Regions from separate parts of the Homo sapiens genome. Here region 2 is linked to region 1. The links are contacts of gene promoters, found by promoter capture Hi-C in blood cells and fetal thymus (Javierre and others, 2016). All regions are on one chromosome and are shown on one strand. Each heading gives the region's core, a stretch centred on a gene start or on the middle of the fragment in contact. The rest is flanking DNA. Distances are from core to core; before and after follow the strand shown. Region 1 holds the start of PCDH10 (protocadherin 10). Region 2 has its middle 550 kb from the start of LINC02510.

Region 1 (5,882 bases), core at 696-3,195:
CGCTTCCTTCACGGTGCTGAAGCTGATCTCTGGCGCGTTGTCATTAGCATCCAGTACTCGCACTAGCACCTTGCAGTGCGCAGGCACGGCGTTGGGGCCCAGGTCCTTGGCTTGCACGTACACTTGGTACACTGGGCTCTCTTCATAGTCCAACTCGCCGCTTACCTCCAGTCTGCCAGTGCGCGGCGAGAGTCCGAAAAGCTCCCGCGCCCGGGGCGAAATGTGGCTGCTGAAGGAGTACACGACCTCACCGTTCTGGCCCTCGTCCGGGTCGGTGGCGTTGAGCTGGATCACGAGAGTGCCTGGGGGAGAGTTCTCTGGTAGGGACACAGTGTAGACGGGTTGGTCGAAAGCGGGCACATTGTCATTGGAGTCCAGCACTCGGATGGTGAGTAGGGCCGTGCCGGTGCGCTGCTGCTGGGGGGGCAGGCCTGCTCCCCCGCCACCTCCCCCTCCTTCTCCTACTCCTCCCCCACCTCCTCCGTCCACCGCGGTCAGCACGTAGCGGTGCACCGCTTGCTGCTCTCGGTCCAGTGGCTTCTCCAGCACCAGCTCAGCGAATCGGTTGCCATCCCCCTGGGTCTGCACGTCCAGGGAGAAGTAGCTGTTGGGGGTGATCTCGTAGTCGCGCAAGGAGTTGGTGCCCACGTCTGGGTCGAATGCGCTCTCCAAGGGGAAGCGAGTGCCTGGCGTGGCGCTCTCAGAGATTTCCACCGTCAGGTCTGGCTCCGGGAAAGAGGGGGGGTTGTCATTAATGTCCAGCACCTCGATCTCCACCTGGAACAGCTCCAGGGGGTTCTCCAGAAAGACCTCCAGGTGCAGGACACAGGAGGGGCTCTGTTTGCAGATTTGTTCGCGGTCTATTTTCTCGTTCACGTACAGCACCCCTGTCTCCAGGTTGAGGTCTAAGTAAGGGGTCCTTGAGTTGGGCACCGTCTGAAACCCGCGAGCCGAAAGTTTTGTAATGTCCAGACCCAGATCTTCAGCGATATTCCCCACGAAAGTGCCATGTTCCTGCTCCTCCTGTACCGTGTAGTGAAGCTGGGAAAAGACTCCTTCCACCATCCAGAGCAAGGCAAACAATAATAGCACAATCATCTCCAAAAGGAAAGGAAGTAGCTTCCCGCAGCCAGTCAGCCACCCAATCACCTCCCCCACCACCACGAAACAAAAAAAAATCTGAAAAAATACAAATAAAAGTGCGCTACGTGGGGGCTCCTGTGGCTTTCTGTCTTTAAAAATCTTACTCCTTTTGCTTCATTTTAGAGCTTCCCGCAATCCAGCCTCATTTTTTTTTAAATCTTAGCACAGGAAGGGTGACAGGCGTCCCCTTTCCTCATCTGTAATCTTTCCACTGACTAATTAATAAAATAACAATAATACAATAGTCAGCGTCCTTTATTCCGACAGTCTTGGCGCTGGCAAATCCCAAAGAGGAAATTTCGATATTTCAAGACTGTCCTCGGTTTGTCTTCTTGCTGATGGGAGGAGAACGAGGAGGAGGAAAAAGAGGAGGAGGAGGAGGAAGAAGAAGAAGAGGAAGAGGAGAAGGAAAAGGAGATGCTGTTGGCACCGTTAAACATGCCTCTTAATGTCAACGGCTGGCAAATGCAAAAGGGCTTAAAATCAGCGATATAATTTTGTGCCGGAAAAGCACAGAACGGCTCTGCAGCTTAAAACTTTCATTCTCTTCATTTCTCCGGATGGATGTTCTTCTTGACATTTTTTTCCTCTTTCGCTCTATTTGTATTTTTTGTCTTTCAGAGTCTTGGTTCCCTCTGTCCTCATCTCCACCGTTACTTGCCTCTCTGTAAGTGTAATGAGCAGTTTCTTTTCTGCTGTTTTCTTCCCAAGCCTCTTTCCCTCTAACCTGTCTCTTTTTCCTTCCAGTCCTTCCTTCCTCCTGCTTCAGCCTCTGAGCCTGTGGTCTGGGCTGGCAGTTTCTGAGCTCCGAGCGCTCGGCTTCTCCGTTTTTGCGCAGCGCCCTCATTCTGCCAACCAATCGCCCAGGAGCACCACCCACCGAGCTGCCGATGATTGGCCAAACTGGCCGCCAAACAGACACGTCACGCGGCAGCCGGGCGGGGCGGGACAGAACTCTCGCCCGAGCGGCCGGGGTGAGTGTGAGTGTGAGAGCGAGAACAGCCCCGCAGGTCCCGAGGCGCTGGCTGGGGACAATGCCGCGGAAAGTTCCCAGTCCCCAGCCGCAGGTAATGGGGAGGGAATAGAGAGGTTCCCCTGTTTGCATCAGCAAATGCGAAAACATAATAGCAACAGCTGCGATATCCTCTCCTAGGAGCGGGATTTCCAATGATGCTAACATTCTTTTTCCTTTAAGGTATTTTCCCTAATACGCATCATGGAAATAAATCATCGAGAAGGGAAAAAGTAGCGCAGGGCCCACTAATTGGCAAGGGTTACCTAATTAAGGGACCCTAGCAGAGACTGGCAGGGCATTTTAAAAGTGAGTATTATATGGCATGTGTCAATCTAAAGGTGAGGGGGTCTGACGGGGCCGTGAGGAAAGGCGCGAAGCATACGGAGTAGGGGGTGGAGGTGACTCCTAAAAAGCGGAGGAATTCACGCTAAAGGATGTGGGGATGACAGCGCTTACAGACGGGCAGACGCGTTCGACGTGCTTCTTTCCTCCCAAAATACATATTCACAAAATACTTACCAAGTAGATTAACTCACTCGAGGACCTAGCTTCGAGCCGTGAGCGCGTTCATCAGTGACTGAGGAGTTGATTTGAGCCGCTTCCTACAAGCCCGCCATCCTAACGCCGGGCTCTGGGGCATCCGGCACACAGCACCGCCAAGCGCTGCAAAGCGCCTCTGATATCCCTGCGCCTTGTGCGGCCAAGTGCCACGCAGCGGCTGGGAACACCGGCTATTTTCTATTTTTTTTTTGGCAATTGGAGATCGATCCCTTTACCCACCATGCTAGATTAGACCACTGATTTCTGCCAATCCTGGGGTCAGCCCGCGGGATGAGGACAGTGGGGCGGCGGCGAACGCGGGCGGGGTGGTGGGCAGGGCCCGTGCACACGAGGGGCCCGAGTGTGCACCGCTGCGGGTATCTGCGAACACGTTTGCACATGCACGGTACTTGCATCCATCCTCCCTGGCCCAGGGCTTAGCTCTGTGTAAGCCCCAACGGAGCCTCCCCGAGTTCCGAAGGACGCGCTTGACCAGCTGTGAGTGCCCCTTCCGGAGGCGCAGGGGCAACGCGGCACATCCACATAGCTAGTTCTTGTGAAGTTAAAACACAGCGCGAACTCTTTAATGCTGGAGAGTGGATAGAATGCCAGTTCTCTAAGGAAAGATCTATAAATATATATTTTTAATTAATGGGCCACTAGCAAGGAATTGGTTGTTTATTCACGAAAGAAGCCCCTATTCAATCTCCTTTTTATGCAAAGAGATAGGAAGGTCCTTTGCTGCTTTCTGGTAATGAATGACCCAAGAATACACCACCACAACCTGCGGGAAAAGTAGAGTCGTTTTCCGACCTGGAGATACGTTGCCATTTCCTCCTGGCAAGGAGTTAAGGAGGGCTAGTGTCCATGGGCGTGATAGTAGCCTGAGACGTGCTTCTGAGAGTCCCGCGAATGCACGTCTACTGCCCTGATTTCCGCGCCCCAACTCCCCGCAACGCCGGGTCCCCCCGGCCCCCGCACTTGGCTCTTTCATGAAGATGGGTCCTGCCTTTGAGCGCTTAGAAGGAAAGGATTCCAGCAAAAATGGCTAATCCTTTTCCAGCTGCAGTAAATTGAAGACTGGCCAAAGCCAAGCGAAAACCGCTGCAGTTAAAATGATTTTAGCATCACGTCTGCGGCTGAGAATGGAGCGGCAGTGTATAAAGGGACCTGTGGATCAATGAAAAGGAGATTATAGTGTATCTGAATATTAATACGGTATTGCATCTGTACTTCCACCCCTCCCCCCTTTCTTTTTCTTCAGATCTGCAGAATTGAAATGAAATGTTTTGAGCTCTTCAAGCTGACTCGTCAGAATCCTGGAGCCTTTTAAAAAATGACGGTAATTTTCTAATGCGTTCATTTGTACGTATGGAAACACTTGTGTGTGTGCGCGCGAGTGCGCGCGTGTTTGCATGTGGGAGACATGCAGCTGAATGACAATGCAGATCCAGAAACTGGGGAAGAGGGTTTCTACCCCTGAAATGTAGATGAAGTTTGAGCTGACTTGGGGCATATGCTGAAAGCCAGAGAGCTTCCAGAGGTGGAGATGAGATGGCCAGATTTGCCTGTAAATAATCACTACATCCACTGTAACACTTGAGCTGCTTTTATTTTTTTTTATTTTTTATTTTTATTTTTGGTAGCAGATGTGTTTGAATGGAACTCTCTCCGCAAACGTGGGTTACAGGCGTCTCCTAGCGGCGAAATCAGCATAGGGCAGGCCAGAGAATTTTGCTTTGGAGAGCTCGCCTTTTGGGGGCTCTACAAGATTTCTTGGGTCATAGGGGTCTGTGTCCGCACCAGCGTCGCTGAGCCCAGGCCCCCTAGAGGTCTCGCCTCTCCGACTTCTAGTCTTTGTGGCGCCAGCCAGGGACCGGCGGAGTGACGGTAGGGTCTTCTTCCCGGCCGAACAGAACAGAGCCTGGTCCTCCGCCTCCCGCTAGATAGCTCCAGCCAAGGGCAATTCCAAGAGCATTTTGTTTGGAGCCAAGATCAGATAGTGGCATTAATAGCCTTCTATGCCCCTTTACCCTAGAGCCTTTAAAACAACCATGCCCCGTCACCCACAAAACAAAACAACACTTTAAATTTGCCTTTTAAAATGCCTCTAAAATGTAACAGGTTTACTTTTTCCCTTGCTGTGTCAATCAAACAGATCCCTGCCTTTCGTTTTTCTTTTTCATTCTTACTCCCGTGGACCCCAGAATTTAGTGAGATGAGGTTTGTATATACGGCAGCCTCAGTAATGAGGCTGACTACCTCTTTGAAGTGTAGAGCATCATGTATATTCTGTGTTCCTCAATCCCCCCGTTACTGGAGCGGAAAAGGAGAAGGAAATATTTTGTACGTAATCCCTTCTTCACCCTCCCCCGTCCACCCCCTAGGAGCGCAAACTGTTTGAGCCAGGACAAACTGCACCCTAAGAAACAGAGGAATAGTTTTATTATTTGGAGGGAGGTTATCAAAATCAGTTTTCATAAAAGTCCTGGTTTATATATTAGAGTGATAGTGCACATTTTTTATTTCATTGGGCTTTAAGTGCAGCAGAAACAGGGGGGCGCTAAGGATCCCACAAGTGTGTTTTACAAACTTTGAAACTGGGTTAAGGGATTGCTTTCTTCTCTGCCCTTTGCTGCAAAGGGTGGGGCAGAAACAAGTTTGTTAACCAGCCTTTGGATAAATGAGTGTTTGCAGTGATTTAACATGACTTGAAAGCAATTTGTTTCTAAATCCTCTTATTATTGCTATGTGCCCAGAGCTTTGAGGGAAGTTTTTTTTTTTTTTTTTTTTAGAATTGGAAGGAAAAATTACTTTATCAATAACCAGGCTCCACCAGGATTGACCTAGATGGTTGTTCCTGGCACTTGTCATTCTCAGCAAGCACAGCTCAGAGAACAAATACAAAAGACCCAAAGTGCATTGCATCTTTTATGGGTAAGCATGAAATAGGTTTATTTGTGGTAGTGTAATCTAACTTAAGAGGTGGGAAGACAAGGCTTTGGAACCAATGCCACAAACATTGTGTTAGTTTTTGTTCATCTATAGTAAAAAGTGAATGCTGACTGGAATTTCTGGGAAAGATTTATAGCATATGCAATTTTAAGTATTCAGGTAACTCTTTAGTTACTGTGTTTTAATCCTTCAAGCCCATCAGAGAACAAACCAATCCTTGTTCTTGGGA
Region 2 (5,279 bases), core at 1,307-3,806, 3.5 Mb before region 1:
AAAATTTGTTAATGATTGCAACAAAGTAGGCAGAGTGTAAATGTCTTTTTATTACAGAAATGCCACTCTTACAGGTAGTACTCAGCCAAGAAGACATTTCTAAAAGTCAAGAAAATCTACACAATCCATCCCATAGGAATAATACATAAAAACAGGCGTATTTTAACAGACACCTTTTCAGAAAAATTTATTTTCTAAAATATCATGAATCTGCAGAGAGGCATCACTCTGAAGCTGAAATAGCTAAAGCTCTAGAAATGCATACTTTAAAGGATACAATTTGAACAGTTTCAAATAGAAAATGTGAGAATGCAATACTAGAGTTCTTTGACTATATCAGTAAGATGCTTTAAGTTTAAAGTGTAAAAACCTCACTCAGGTGAGGTAGAAAAATACATCTAGTCACTTATAAAGAGGATTCACAAGTGATTCATGAAGCCAAGAGCAAGACAAGGGGAGCCTCATCTCAAGAGCCACTAGAGCTTCAGGGCATCTGACTCATTATTACCTTCCTATTTTCACAGACAACTTTTCCTTTTTCTCTATCACGAAATAATAGCTGTCTATCATTTCAGAATTTCATCACGCAGAGAGGCTGGTCCTTTCTCTGTCCTAATTACAAATTATTAGAAGAGAGGATATGATCAGCCCTACTTCAGTCAAGTACCCATTCAATTAGATTAGGAAGAGTGTAGTACAAACCTAACTGCCAGATGCTCATCCATGCATTGTGTCTGGCTCATTCACAGAGAAAGGTGTTCAACAAACCACACATTTACCAAAAGAACATGGAAGGCTGGTGAAGACTTAAGTAGGAAATAAGCTTGCAATGTAAACAGAAATCTAAAAGCAGATGATGTAGAAGAAGTCTTAAGACAGTAGAAAAACTCAGCCCATAACAAAAAGAATATATGATCCTGGCTGTTCTTGTGTGAGAGATTTGTCAGTAATCGAATGAGAAACATTTGGCGCTAAAACTTACAACTACATTGTAATTTTGCCTATATATTATTTTCAGATTGAAAAGATATATATGCATATATATATATATAAACTTTATACCGTGTGTGTTGGTTATATGCATAATGTATGCCTGTTTACGTATCTATCATTTCCACATTTATACATATGAAAATATAGACATATGTAAATCAAATTATCTCCTTTAGGACTAATCTAATTGTCATGTTAAAAATATGAGTTAACTGCAGCTTCTTAGATAAATATTTAAATCTAGAGGAACTAATCAATTTAAGAAATCAAAATCTTGGCGCCCAGAGTTTGGGGCAGACAAGAAAAGCAACACTATCTGCAATAATAGGGCCTAACAGGTCCGGTTTCACTAGAGAATGACTAATGCATATGATTTACATTTCCTTTATCAGGTAGCTCTTGGTTCTCATGAATAGCATTTCCACAAATATAAAGATTTTGGATAGAGTGAACATTCTCTGAATTCTTATTCCTTGCGAACCAGAAAATTACACCAGATTTCTCAGTAATTGATGCTGTCACATAGTATTTTCCTCTCATTTCACTAATTTTTTAAACGTGTCTGTCTTCAATGAGTACAAAATGGAGAGATAAAAAAGAACAAAATTAGCTTTATTATTTGATTAGACAATAGTCTGGTAAGATGCTTGCTATGGTTTGAATATTCCCTCCAAAATTCATGTTAAAACTTACTTTTCATTTTGATACTTTTAAAAAGTGGGAACATAAACAGGTGATTAGGCAACAAGGACTCCTCTCTTCTAAATAGATTAATCATGTCATTGAGGGAATGGGTTTATTGTCGAGACAGTGGGTTGTTACAAAAGTGAGTGTGGCCCTCTCATGCTCTTTCGCTCTCTCTTTCTTTTGTCCTTTCACCCTTTGCCGTGGAATAGCACAGCATGAAGGCTCTTGCCAGATGCTAGTGCCACGTACTTGGACTTCTCAGCTCCAGAATTGTGAACCAAATCAACTTCTTTTCTTTATAAATTATCCAGTCTGTGATATTTCCGGTGCTTAATCAATGATATCCTGAACTTAAGATTTATTAAAATACAGCTTAGAATATACCAGTTAAAATAAATGATCCAGGAAATACGATTTTATTTTTAGTATGTTTAAATACTATTCTGTTACTCTTAGAAAACATAAGTATTTGTTAAATTTTACTTAAAAATGGGCAACTGTGATATATATGATTAATTTTTACTTTATAATATAGATAATATTAATGTAAGTTTGTATTGATGGTAGTACAACATATTAAGCTTTTGTATCTCCAAGTATTATCTGTGGATATAGTACTGTTCCCTGTAGCTTATATATTTCCATAAAGTGAACTGGGCACCAAAATAAGAGCAATTAACATTTGAGAAGCAAAAGGGCTCTCATTTGGTTAAAAAATAAATTGTCATTTTGAATTGAATCTGCATATTAATAGCTTTCATTATTATCATCTTTCAGGCTTTATGTACTATTCATTTCCAACTGCCTACATTCTTTTTATGATCTAAAAAATGCAAAACTACTTTTGAGATTCTGTATGTGTCTGATTGCTTTGAAAACCATGAGAGATTCTTTAAAATGTAAAGCATGAATCATTAAAGGGTTTATTTTGCATCTTGTGTATTCAAAAGGTTTGGAATTCATTTTCAAATGTTGCAAAGCACACTAGTATCTCATGGGTTTTTATTCTACAAACTCACATTCTCAATGAATGATTTCTCACTCACAATACTCTACCTGAGCATGAGGCGTACAAGATAGGAGATGAGGCAAATTCCCCTTGAGCATAACTTTAAATCACATTGAGGAAGATGCCAATATTTATGTTTAAAAAACTAAGTCAGAAGCTTATATATCTACTTTAATAGAAGAAACATTAACTTAGCACCTCTTCTGGTATAAAGTTTTACCTGAATTTTCTCCGTACTGTTGTAAATCTTGAAACTACTGACAGACTAATACACAATAACTTCTAAAATTAATACTTGTGCTTTGGATTATGAGTTTCTAGAAGCCAGAATTATTTGTTGTGTATTATTATATTACAAGGACCAAACAGAGTGTTAAGGCACATACTCTGCATCCAATATTTTTGTTGTATTGAGCAAAGGAAGCGGGCATTTAGAAATAATGCCTTGTTTGAGTCATAGTGTCAGAGGCATGTGAACTAGAACAACTCCATCTTGAATAGGAGCTGGGTAAAATGAGGCTGAAACCTACTAGGCTGCATTCCTAGATGGTTAAGGCATTCTAAGTCACAGGCTGAGATAGGAGGTCAGCACAAGATACAGGTCATAAAGACCTTGTTGATAAAACAGGTTGCAGTAAAGAAGCCAGCCAAAACCCAACAAAAGCAAGATGGCCACGAGAGTGACCTCTGGTTGTTCTCACTGCTACACTCCTACCAGCACTGTTGAAACCGGAAAAGCTTCCTTGTCTTTCTCACAGGGTGTGCAATGGGGGTATAACTCACTTCTTCAGTGCCCTGCTGCTCAAACCTCTAGGGGAGCATACAGATGGGCAGGCTGTGGGGCTCCGACCCCATGGCAGTGTCTAGGGGTGAATGTTTACAGCTGAAGCCCCAGTGGGCCTGTGTTACAGGGTGCTTTTTAGTTTAGCCAACCATAGGCGGTTTATGTTAACCAGCTCAATTAGACCGTCTACCTTGTAACAAGGACAGGGGGCTTTCTGTATCCCAGGGTCTTGCCTTGGTGTCCTGGAAGAATGGGATAACACCTGGGCTTGGAGAATGAGTGCAAGGTTTTATTGAGTGGAGGTAGCGCTCAGCAGATTGGGGGAAACCAAAAGGGGGATGGAGTGGGAAGGTTTTCCCCAGGAGTCAGGCTGCTTAGTGGCCCAGGCTTTCCTCCGACTGCCCCAGCCAGACTCCACAGTGTTTTGCTGGTCGGTGGCCTGCCCTGTGCTGGTGCCTGTAGGTGTGCTGCTCTCAACATCCAGCCGTCTGTGTGTTCCTCCGCTGACGAGCTCTGGAAGTTCAGCCGCCTGTGTCTGCCTGCTATGGTCTTGAGGTATTTTATAGGCACAGGATTGGGGTGTGGCCTTGGGAAATGCAACATTTGGGCAGGAAAACAAAAATGCCTGTCCTCACTTAGGTCAGTGGGCACACGCCTGGGGGTGGAGCCCTAGCCAGGGACCACAGCCTCCTCTACCCAGCACTTCCCTTCCTGCTTCCGTATCATTTAAAGTGACTATGCCCTTCCCAGCACTTCCTTTCTGTATCATTTCCCCCCTCTGAAGACGTACATCTAACTGCCATTAGAATATGGATGATGACTGGTCTTAGCTGCTTCCTGCTGACAGGGAGCATTTTTTTTTGGGAAAACAGCAGTTAGATTCCCCCAGAGGTCTATCTAAGGGTTCCTAGCAAAAAGGAGCCAACGCCTGAGGCTCTGGTTGCCTGACCATTTGGAGTTTGATGGCTTCTATGCGCAAGAGAAAAAAACGAGGTTTTTAAGGTTAAGTATGCATGGGTTAAACCTGTGTATTATACAAGGAAAGAATTCAGTGTCAAAGATTTCAGAGACCGGAAGTAAAATATACTGACGACAACATTGTACCCTGAGCTGTTTCATCCTAGTGAAATAAATTAAACCTTGTATGGGAGCAGATCAACTTTTAGAAGAGTGATAACTGTTCTTGCCATATCTTTGTGCACTCTGGGAACTCTGGGGTTTGCAGGCTTGCATAGTGACAATTAAAGCTTTTGCCTCTTTCCTGTACTTCCTCTTTCTTAGACCTCCCTGTCTTTATTATAAAAGACCGAGGTAGCCACTTTCAGGAGGTCCTCTAATGTACTATGTGGTCCCAGGGCCCATTTCTGCAACCTCCACCTGATATGAGGAGCTGCCTGAGTAATAAATTTATCCTTTAGGATTAGCTGTTTCTTGACTGAATCAGGAGATAGAGAAGTGTGCTTTACCAAGGTCTCTCTTAGCCTTTCGAGGAAGGCAGTGGGATTTTCACCAAATCCCTGGTTGAGCATGAACAACTTAATATAATTCAGAGGCTTGGTCTTAGTTCTACATAAGCCTTCCATTATGCACACCCCAAAATGTCTCTTTTTCCAATCTTCCATCTCATCACTGGGATCCCATTTAGGGTCATTCACCGGTATTGCTTCTCTTCCAGTTGGAAAATATTCGCCCCCTTCCCTGATGCTACCTGTGATGCAAAGCTCATCCCCAAATGTCTCTGCTGCTTGCAGAATGGCCTGTTTCTCAGTGTCCATCAGGGTCTCATCTAAAATTAACATAACATTT

The links. Contacts are between HindIII fragments. The CHiCAGO score rates a contact against its expected background, and 5 or more counts as called.
Region 2: a fragment that was not itself captured here is called in contact with the fragment with the promoter of PCDH10 in region 1 in 3 of 17 cell types (M2 macrophages, M1 macrophages and fetal thymus); the score reaches 14.1 in M2 macrophages.

The regions. Positions count from the first base shown.
Region 1 is chr4:133,145,357-133,151,238 of GRCh38, reverse strand. PCDH10 (protocadherin 10) reads right to left here and starts at 1,945. Exons shown (of 5, transcript NM_032961.3): 1 at 1-1,945. The coding sequence starts at 1,098. It overlaps PCDH10-DT (PCDH10 divergent transcript), which reads left to right and starts at 2,123. Exons shown (of 9, transcript NR_125885.1): 1 at 2,123-2,210; 2 at 3,963-4,040; 3 at 5,494-5,635. RefSeq lists a silencer at 1,892-2,031 and an enhancer at 2,142-2,201. The HindIII fragment of the contact is 9,721 bases long and covers 1-5,882 here.
Region 2 is chr4:136,638,813-136,644,091 of GRCh38, reverse strand. No RefSeq gene overlaps it. Among named protein-coding and RNA genes, the nearest start is that of LINC02510, 550 kb to the left of the region's middle. The HindIII fragment of the contact is 585 bases long and covers 2,264-2,848 here.